3 separate regions of the Homo sapiens genome follow, and regions 1 and 3 are each linked to region 2. Evidence: promoter capture Hi-C in 16 types of primary human blood cells and fetal thymus (Javierre and others, 2016). All regions are on one chromosome and are shown on one strand. Each heading gives the region's core, a stretch centred on a gene start or on the middle of the fragment in contact. The rest is flanking DNA. Distances are from core to core; before and after follow the strand shown.

Region 1 (3,591 bases), core at 468-2,967, 650 kb before region 2:
GAGGATATAGTATTGGGGAAATATTGGAAGGATATCTTAGCAGAAAGTATCTGGGAATTAGTACCACTATAGAAAAATAAAAATGGCAACACATGGCTAGAAAAGATCTATTTCAAATGGAAATAGAAAGTTCAGAGAGTAATCTAAGCTCTGGATTCTGATATACTTTTGTGTGGCTTGCAGGGACAATATAAAGGCATTTATACATTCGTATAGTAATCTTTAAACATACAGTAATCTTTAAAAGCTATTAACAAGATTCAACATTGGGCCAGTAACTGGAATATATATATGTTCACATGATTGTTGCTCCTTTCTTTCTGTTTGCATAAGTTCCAAGAAGATTTAAAAAATTCTTTTTCACATATTTATAACTGCATGGCTATCTAATTCTTGTGTGTACATGATATTTATTGATTTGAAAAAATTATTAGATATTCTCTTTGTAGGCGAGATCTGAGAGGCAAAATGTTGATTGATTTTTCATTTTTCAAGATTAACTTTAAACAGATGGCTTAGCTGAAGCTGTAAGAGCAGTAGCAATTAGCCTCAGGTTACTGCATTCCTATGGAGACTAACAAGGATGCCACCTGGTTATTTACAGACCATTCTAGAATATCTCTGCCTTAATGTGGTGGTGTGAGTAGAATCTAAATTTATCTTGAATGTCTCTATGCTTGAGGGATTTTTAGCACAGTACCATCTTAGGTTAGAGTGATTTCTAGAGTATCAGTTCCCTCAGAAAATTTAGATCAATTATTAAGGGGCATTTAGAAAAAAATCACAACTTACAGTGCCCATTGCTTTGTTGTTTACATAGAAACAGCTAATACATAAAAATTGTCAATCATAACAGCTACATGTTTCAGAAGAATTTGGGGTGAGAATGATGAACACTATTAATGAAATGATATAACAGCAGTTGGGAAATGCCGTCAACAATATAAAATGTGAAAACTGGATCACAAAAGATGCTAGTTATGTTTGCCAGTTAGGAGGCATCAGAGCGATTTGAACCACTTTAGCTGTGTTAATCTTTACTTTTCCGTAGTTTGCCTATATCACAGAGTCAGTATTAATGTATAATGGACATTTATTAGGCTTAAAATTCCAAGAAGTTTTAAATATGCATGTATTAGTTATCTATTGCCATTGTAACAAATTAGCACAAACCTTGTGGCTTAAGACAATAGAAATGTTTTTTGGGTTTTTTTGTTTGTTTTGTTTTTACAGTTCTGGAAACCAGAACAATTACAATTAAGTATAAATTCAAAATGAGTTATATAGGAATAAAATCAAGGTGTCATCAGGATTGGATCCTTCTGGTCTTGGGGAGAATCTGTTCCTTGCCTCTTCCATCTTCTGGCAGCTGCCTGCCGGTGTTCTCGGCTGGTAGCTGTATGACTCCAATCTCTGTTTCTGTGGTCACATTGCTTTCTTCTCTTCTGCAGCCACATCTGCTCCTGCCTCCCTCCTATACCTGCAATTATATTTAGGGGTCACACAAATAATCCAGGATAATATTCCCATCCCAAAATTCTTGACTTAATCATTTCTACAAAGCCCCTTTTGCCGTATAAGGTAGCATTCACAGGTCCTGTGAATTATTACTAGATTTTATTCATCCTACCCTAATACCCATTATGATATACCCAGATTTTAATACAAAATATTATTTTAACCAGGATCTTTTAAATGTGTTTCATTTAGAAGGAAGATGATTTTACATTTTAATATTAATGTGGAAGTTCATAGTTGGCCTTTAATTGACTATTTGCTCTGTTGATTGTGTCATTGGTGGTTTTCTAAAAGTAATTCTTTAATTTTATGACATCTATAAAACACCAGTATATCCAAAAAAGAGAAATGTTTGTAGCATCTCTTTTTATATATTTGTAATTTTCCCTACCTATCAAAATTGGATTAGAAGTTAGCCAGGAATAAGTTAGGAGGGTCCTATAGAATTATCCATATGGTCTAATTTGGTGGGAATGGGCATGTTGGATTTGGCAGGTAATTGAAGTAGAATACATTTACAGTAAACATTTGGAAATTTGGGTTTTATCATGGTTTTCCCACCTTTTTAACATTTAACAAACTTTTATTTGAAGATAATTATATGTTTATAGAATAGTTGCAAAAATCAAAACAGTACAAAAAAAACCCCTGCATACTCTTTATCTGGATTCACCTAAGGTTAACATTTTACCCCATTTGCTTTATCTTTTGTTCTCTCTCTTTGTCTATGTACGTGTGTATATCCTTTGTCTTTAATGACAGACATTTTTGAAGAATGTAGTCCTCCTTCCTGTTTTCCCCTCTGTGAGGATTTTTAAAAATTGGATGTAATTCACATGCCATGTAATTCACTTTTTTAAAGTATACAATTCAGTGGTTTTTGGCATATTCATAAGGTTGTACAAGGATCACCGTGATCTAATTCCAGAACATTTTCATCACCTCAAACAGAAACGCTGGGCCTGACATGGTGGCTCATGCCTGTAATCCCAGCACTTTGGGAGGCTGAGATGGGAGGATCACTTGAGCCCAGGGATTTGAGGCTGCACTGAGCCAAGATTATGCCACTGCACGCCATCCTTGGTGACAAAGTGAGACCCTATCTGTAAACAAAACAGAATACTTTAGCAGTTATTCCTCATCCCACCCCTCCTCTAACAATCACCAATCTACCTTCTCTTCGGATTTGCCTATTCTGGGCTTGTATGTAAAAGTAATCATTTGATATGTGACCTTTTGAGTCTGGCATCTTTCACTTAGCATAATGTTTTCAAGGTTCATCACGTTGTCACATGCATCATTTTTGAATCATATGAAGTGCAGAGTAACATCCAATTGTATGGATTAATGAAATGGCCAAGTAATAGTCCATTTATGGATATACTAAGTTTTGTTTATCTATTCACCATTTGATGAACATTTAGGTTGCTTCTACTTTTTGGCCATTATGCATAGTGCTGCTATGAACATTCAAGTTTTTATGTAATGTACAAGTTTTTATGTAAATATGTTTTCCATTCTGTTGGGTGTACATGAAGGAGTAGAATTGCTGGGTCAAGTTAAACTCTGTTTAACTTTTTAAGGAACTGCCTGCTCATTATTTTTAGTTTCTTTCCTAAGGTATTTTTTCTCCTCTTTGAAAATTCAGGGCAGTGATTCTGGGGTGGGTGTGGTGGGTGCGTTTTTCAGCTTCAGATGTCCTTCCAGAGATTTAATGTTGAGGATAGCTTCTTTAAAGTCTAGCAGGGTGCTCCTCTCTTGACCTGAGAATAAAATACTAAGATGATCTGACCTAGCAGAATAGTTCTTTTCATTTGTGTTTAGTGGTTTTCAATGCATTTTGTTTTCTATTTCGTTCTATTAAAGAAATTATTGGCAACCTTAGTTGTTTTAGTAGATTGAAATGCTTCCTAACTGGGATGTTATTTATCCTTATCTGTTGGCTTACAAGGAGAACTGTGAATCCATTCAACAAATAAAAGGTTTTTTTCATCTTTTAAAAAATCATGGAGAAAATGACACAATGTAGCATTAGTCATATTCCTTTAAATAGAAGAAAATATAAAAATAAAT
Region 2 (3,085 bases), core at 301-2,800:
AAAAAAAAAACAAAATTGTTAAGATGGTAAATTTTTTTTTTTTAACCACACACAAAAAGAATGTAGCTAAAGAAAAACAGTAAATAAATGGAAGGACATAGATATCAAGAAGATCCTGAGGATGGCACATGAAACGTCAATTTGGGATGCACCTGCTCAAACTCCTTCATTGTACTAATGGCCACAAATTAGCTGCCTGACCTGGACCTTGCCTGACCTTGCTCCTACCCTGTTCCTTTATTCTTCCCTTCCCCTAATCCAAGTCCTTAACTCCAGCAGGATATACAGGCCTCCCTATCTCTAGCATGGTCTCACCGGCTGCTTCCCCTAACAAGAATGTTCTCCCTTCAGACACCTCTACCAAATCCTACCTCATCTATGGGAGCTGCCATCCCCACTTGGCTGTTTTTACCACTCCTTTTAGCCCTTCACCATATGCTGCCTTGTAACTAAACTGTAAGCCTTTGAAAGAGGCAGATCCTACAGCATTTAATAATTCTAGCCATTGGGCAAGGCACTTTTTGGAGCCTCACTTTCTCAAGCCTATAAAAAAGGTGGAGGCGGCCATATGACTATGACCAGGGCTTTTGAGTCAGATGGCCTCAACTGGTATCCCAGCTCTTCCACTTACTAGTTGTGTGCTTTGGGTAAGTTTTATAACCTCTTTGCTTCTCAGTTTCTTCATCTGTATAATGGGGTTTATGATAAATCTCTCAGTATGGCTGGAAACATGAACCAAGATTATTACCCATGTCTAGTGCTTCCAAAGGCCCCTCTCATGTCAGTGCTTAGTAACCACTAGCCATTATTGGCATTATCCGGACAATGGAGAAGAGACTGGGAGCTTTCTCTTCTGGAAGAACAAGTGAAAGGATAAAGCGGGATGATGGTGGGAGAAATGTGCCCAAAATTCAAGGGGATGGAGAAAGGGGGCCGGGAAGGCGTGTCGGACAAGATTCTCGATGGAGGAGGATGCTGGGAGTGGGCCGGGGGCTTCTGGAGAGGTGAAGGGGCACCCCCGGACTCGGCTGTCGGTTTGGTCGCTTCCCCCGTAACCTTTCATTGGAAACACGGTGCTTGTAGGAAGAGGACGCCCTAACGGGCCCTGAGCGAAATCAGGCGGGTCGCTGCCGAGATCTCGGTTCGGTTTCCGACAGGTTTCCGGGCAGGTCCTCGCGGCGGGCCCGCTCCTCCTTCCACCTCCCACCTCTCTCACAGCCAGCGGGCGGGGCAGCCCTCGGCCGGCCGCCGGCCTCCGTCTCCCGGGGTGACCTGGGGGAGCGTTTCTGGGGTCTCCAGCGTGGCGCGCGGTCAGTCACTGACTCCAGTGAGGGGCTTCAAGGCCAGGGCTCCGGGGCACTTTATCCCCAACCCCGGCCGGAAGGCCCGCTTCGGCCCGTCGACCTGGGGACCAGGCCTTCGCCCTCGGTCGTACCTGACCTACGGCGGCCATCGCCGTTCTTGCCTTTCGTCTGCAGCTCCGTTGGGGCGGCCGCCGCCACTGCCTTGCCCTCGGCGCAGCCCATGTCGCACAAGGCCCTGTGGGAACTGACGGAGCCGAAGGACGCCTGGCGGAGGCCGCGAGCCCCCTGCCGGCCGCGGGTCGGAGAACGCGGTGGGCGGGGCGCTCGGTGACAACAGCGAAGTCATAGCCCGTGTATCTTCTTCAAGGTCGTGAATTTTTTTTTTTTAACAGGAAAGAACGGTCGCTAAAGGTAAATTGGAAAATGCAGAAATGGAAAGGAGAAAAGAGCGCACCACCCAAAATCCTTATCCTTCGGCTGGGCGCGGTGGCTTACACCTGTGCACTTTGGGAGGCCGAGGTGGGAGGATTGATCGCTTGAGCCCAGGAGTTTGAGACCATCCTGGGCAATGTAGAGAAACCCTGTTTCTACAAAAAATAATTTTAAAAAATTTATCCTTCACACAAACTACTTTTGCTGTGTTTACTATTTCTTTCCAGTTTTTCCCCTCTATGCATAGTTTTGCATCCAGCATTTCACTTAATACTAGTATTTTCCATACTATCACATAGTCTTGTAAGCCTCCCAGATAACCACCTGGCTTCCACTGTCACTTCAGTCTTTGCCTCTTTGACCGTAGATGAAGCATACACTGAACATCGTAGTTTCTTTTTAATACACTTTATTTTTTAGAGCAGTCTTTTTTTTTTTTTTTTTTTGAGACGGAGTCTCACTCTGTCACCCAGGCTGGAGTGCAGTGGCGCGATCTCAGCCCACTGCAACCTCTGCCTCCCAAGTTCAAGCGATTCTCCTGCCTCAGCCTCCCGAGTAGCTGGGACTACAGGCGTGTGCCACCATGCCCAGCTAATTTTTTGTATTTTTAGTAGAGACGGGGTTTCACCGTGTTAGGCAGGATGGTCTCGATCTCCTGACCTTGTGATCCGCCCGCCTCGGCCTCCCAAAGTGCTGGGATTACAGGCGTCAGCCACTGCGCCTGGCCTTAGAGCAGTCTTAAGTTCACAGCAAAAAGACCATCCTATTTGAACAGAAATCTGATCACGCCCCCCTCAACTCTACCCCCACCCTTTACTTTACTCTATTTTATTTTTACCAGCACTGAGAGCCTTCTAACTTACCCTATATTCTCTGTCACCTGCTCCCACTCCCTCCGCCAGCCTCCCCACGACACCCTGCCCATGTAAACGCTGCCAAAATAGAACCTTTGCATTTTTTTCTTGTATCTTGGCCTTCAGCTTGGGCCAGGTGGCCTCCCCCACCTCTTGAAGGAAAGCAGGGAAGAAGCGGGAAAATATTAATTTGAATAATTATAATAATGTAATAGTCCATCCACTAGAGCTACTGGACGATTACATAGCCTATTATTAGATGTTTAGTTTGTTTTTTATTTTTAAAAATTATGAATAAGGCTGCAGGGAACATCTTTGTGTTTATAGTTTTAAGGCTGTCATTACACGTTGCCAAAATTGCTTTTTTGGAACTGTGGTTCCCATTTGAACTCCTACTAGTAATGAATGAGAGTGATTTTTTTTAACACCAAACCACATTGCGGCACATCAGGTGCACAGTCACTGTTCTCTATCAGTGCAGTGCTCTGTTTTTCC
Region 3 (3,405 bases), core at 357-2,856, 670 kb before region 2:
ATTAACTACTTTAGAACTTTTATTTGGGTTATTTTTCTTTATATTTATTCGTATGAACTTTACACTAGAGAATTAGCTTATTGTGGAATCACAATCATAAAGACTTTGTTCTTTTTATTTTATAATTGCCATTTTCTTGCCCTTATATCACCAGCAAAGTTTAAAGTGGATTATTGTCATGTTAGGTGATCATACAATGCAGCTAACTTTTTTGGCTAGGTTCTGGGAATTTAGGGAATCTTATTAAAATTATAACTCGATTTCCAAAATATTTTCAAGCATTTTGTTTTAGTAGTTTAATTGTATCGGGGTAGTTTCTTGTCTTCATAAAGAATTACTATAGTTGAATGGAGTTAACATTGACCAAAGCAGAGTGAAGTTAAGCTATTGGAAAATTAAATTGTTGGTACAAAAATAATTATGCCATCAGCATGCTATTTTTTTAGGCTCATTTGCTTCTTTTTTCTTTCTGATTTTATTTCATTTAGAAAGTGTCATTTAAAATTTTTCAGTCTAACAAGTATTTGAAAGCTTTTCAAAACTATCCAAAATTCAGAATTTTAAAAAGTATTTGTTTAAAGCTTCTGACTTTGAATAATGTGTGTTCTAATTTTATGATAACTTGACCTTTATAAGCACTTTAGTATATGTAAAGTAGAAACTCTTAGCCATATTTGTAGGTGAGAAAACTTAGGTAAGGTGACTTGTCCAATCTCATCAACTTGTTACCAGCTGAATCAGAACTAAAACACGTTTCCTAACTCTTAGCTCTTTCCACTGGACTATGATACATACAAAATATTTGTTTTCAGTTGAAAAGATATAGATGGTACTATGTGTAGGAGAACTTCCCATATACATCTTCAAATGTGCTGATTTTGGAAAAAGATTCTAAGCGATTACATCTTGCCTGATTATTGCATAATGTATTTTTTTTAAAAAGTTTTCTGCTATAGCTTTTTTTCTTTTTCAATGATATTATGGGAAAGGTAAGTCTAGTAATTTAAAAAGCCTCCAGAATACTAAAATATAAGGCACTGTTTGATGCAAGACAAAAATTCTGCTTATTAAAATTTTGGCTTTAATAGGTAGAGTAAAAAACACTGGGCTAGAGTCACAAGCTATGTGACTTTAGGCAAGAATTTAAGCCCTACTCTACAGGACCTCAGTTTTATTATCTATAAAGTGAGTATGCTGGAACAAAAACATTTAGAGTCATTTTAACTCTAAAAGTGCTGTGAGATTCTGTTACTGTTTTTCTCCATAGCCATATTTAGGCTTTCATATTGATTTGTGGTTAGCACATTTAAAGTTTTCTCTTTACTACATCCTCTTAATGAGTATCTTGGTGTGACAAAATCTACACAATTTAGAGTGGATATAAATGTTAATAGTTTTATCCCATTTGTATAATTTAAGAAAATTAGGATGTAAAAGTACAAGTACACAGTTAAATTTTCATCTTCTATTCTCTCGTAGGTTTATAGACAGAAACTTCAGGTTTAAAGAATATCTTTTACAAAGACTGTTTCTTGTATTCTGGCCTTCAGTGTTTTAAAATTTAATTATGTCCTGCTGCTTAATACTTCAACGTCTTTAAGTAATAAAATGAAATAAGCATTTCTAGCTGCCATATGTAAACAAATCTGGTTTTGTTGGCCTTCTTCCCAGTTGTTGTACATATACATATGACTCACCTTTTTTTTTGATGTTTTCATACTTTATTTGAGGGTTAAAATTAAAACCTTTGGATTCAATACACACAAATACATTATATCTAAGATATACATGTCACTAAATCTGAAATTTTAGCTTTACCATAATTTTAGTAGCTTTCAGGCCTCTAAATACAATGCTGAACTTCTTAAATTTTCTATGATCCCCACTTGGAGTTTGTTGAAAGGCATTTTGCCAAAGCGTTAGAGTAAATGTTTTGTTTGCTTTAGTCAGCTTATCTAAGCAGTCTAACTGGAATTGATATGCTGTTTTTCTATCCTACACATTTTGGTATTTGGGGGATTGATTTTCTTTAAATCATAGCCTAAAAAGTAATGAACATTCTTTCTTCTAGGAATAATAATGGTTGGGGTTATCGTTGGTTCAAAGAAGACTGGTATAAATCCTGATAATGTTGCTACACCCATTGCTGCTAGTTTTGGCGACCTTATAACTCTTGCCATATTGGCTTGGATAAGTCAGGGCTTATACTCCTGTCTTGGTAAGTTGATTTAAAACTAAATATTGTGTGTTGTCTCAAGTCTCTTTAAATAAATATTGTTGCAGCAATGCCATGAATCCATGGTAGCCTTCATTTGCATTAGAACTGCTGTTGAGACTGATTAGGATAACTATCATTTGTTTTATACCTACTATGTGTTATGATTCCCACTTTCTTTTTTCTCGTAGAGTTTAAAACTCTGTAAAATAAGGATTATCATCTCTAATTTTAGATGAGAAAAGCAAGGATCATAGAAGTTATGTATGTTACCCAAGTTTATATAACTACTAGTAAAAAAGTTGAACACAGGCTTATCATATTTTGTGATTTCTGTCCTTTCCTGTAAGTGTACAGCAGCTAGGAGTCAACCTGCAGTGTTCTCTGTATAGAACCATCTCAGAATATAAGCTTATAAGTGGTACTTAAAATTTACCAATGGAATGTTTTTCCCCATCAGAAACCCACACCAATAAGTAGCTTCATGGCAGTTAACAAAAGGGAAAAAAAAATCACCACAAAAATTAGACTGAATGCTGTATAAAGTTGGAGCCATATATGTAATTCCTGATAAATAGTGATAGAGTATTTATGGAATCTAATGAGTTGTTTTAATGCAAATTTGTGTTCTGGAAATGGTAAATACATATGATTTGTGAGTGTTGATGACATGCTAAAAGTTCATTGTGGTTTTATTATTTTTAGATGCCAAATTAAGGAAAACAGAAACTTACAGTAATACAAGAAAAAAACATGAGTATATAAGCCAAGCCAGAGGCAAACATTTATTCACAAATCCTCACATATGTTCATGGATTCTATACAGATTTATGGTGTACTTTAAAATAAATCTAAAGCATGTTTCGTTTTAAGAAGTAAGGGTCTCAGATATATGTTCTTGAAATAAAGAAAGGGCTTTAACCAACCAAAGGCAATAATTTTCTGTGACTTTTGGAGACATCAAGGAAGCTTCACTTAGCATATAAAATTGCCTTAAGTTATTTAGTGAGTGGCATAAAAACAATATTTAATAAGACTTGGTGTGTATGTTCAAGGAATATTTCTCTCATTTAGAAGATAAGGTTGCATCCACTTTAAGTGAGGTATAAGACAAGAAATGATCAATGGCCTAAATGTAAGCTCTTGTTCCCAAAGGTCTTGGCTTTTTTATGTTGTTGTGCAATTTGCAA

Evidence for each region. The method cuts DNA at HindIII sites, captures the fragments that hold promoters and counts their contacts. A CHiCAGO score of 5 or more calls a contact.
Region 1: a fragment that was not itself captured here is called in contact with the fragment with the promoter of TXNRD1 in region 2 in 9 of 17 cell types (naive CD4 T cells, activated CD4 T cells, endothelial precursors and 6 more); the score reaches 7.5 in naive CD4 T cells.
Region 3: a fragment that was not itself captured here is called in contact with the fragment with the promoter of TXNRD1 in region 2 in 13 of 17 cell types (erythroblasts, activated CD4 T cells, M2 macrophages and 10 more); the score reaches 10.0 in erythroblasts.

What each region holds. Positions count from the first base shown.
Region 1 is chr12:104,868,051-104,871,641 of GRCh38, reverse strand. The region is part of intron 6 of SLC41A2 (solute carrier family 41 member 2); the gene reads left to right. Among named protein-coding and RNA genes, the nearest start is that of SLC41A2, 88 kb to the left of the region's middle. The HindIII fragment of the contact is 3,851 bases long and covers 1-3,591 here.
Region 2 is chr12:104,214,244-104,217,328 of GRCh38, reverse strand. TXNRD1 (thioredoxin reductase 1) reads right to left here and starts at 1,550. Exons shown (of 17, transcript NM_001093771.3): 1 at 1,436-1,550. The coding sequence starts at 1,526. RefSeq lists enhancers at 542-1,157, 1,158-1,774 and a silencer at 1,598-1,687. The HindIII fragment of the contact is 5,942 bases long and covers 1-3,085 here.
Region 3 is chr12:104,885,106-104,888,510 of GRCh38, reverse strand. SLC41A2 (solute carrier family 41 member 2) reads left to right here. Exons shown (of 11, transcript NM_001352171.3): 6 at 2,072-2,218. Among named protein-coding and RNA genes, the nearest start is that of SLC41A2, 71 kb to the left of the region's middle. The HindIII fragment of the contact is 2,045 bases long and covers 584-2,628 here.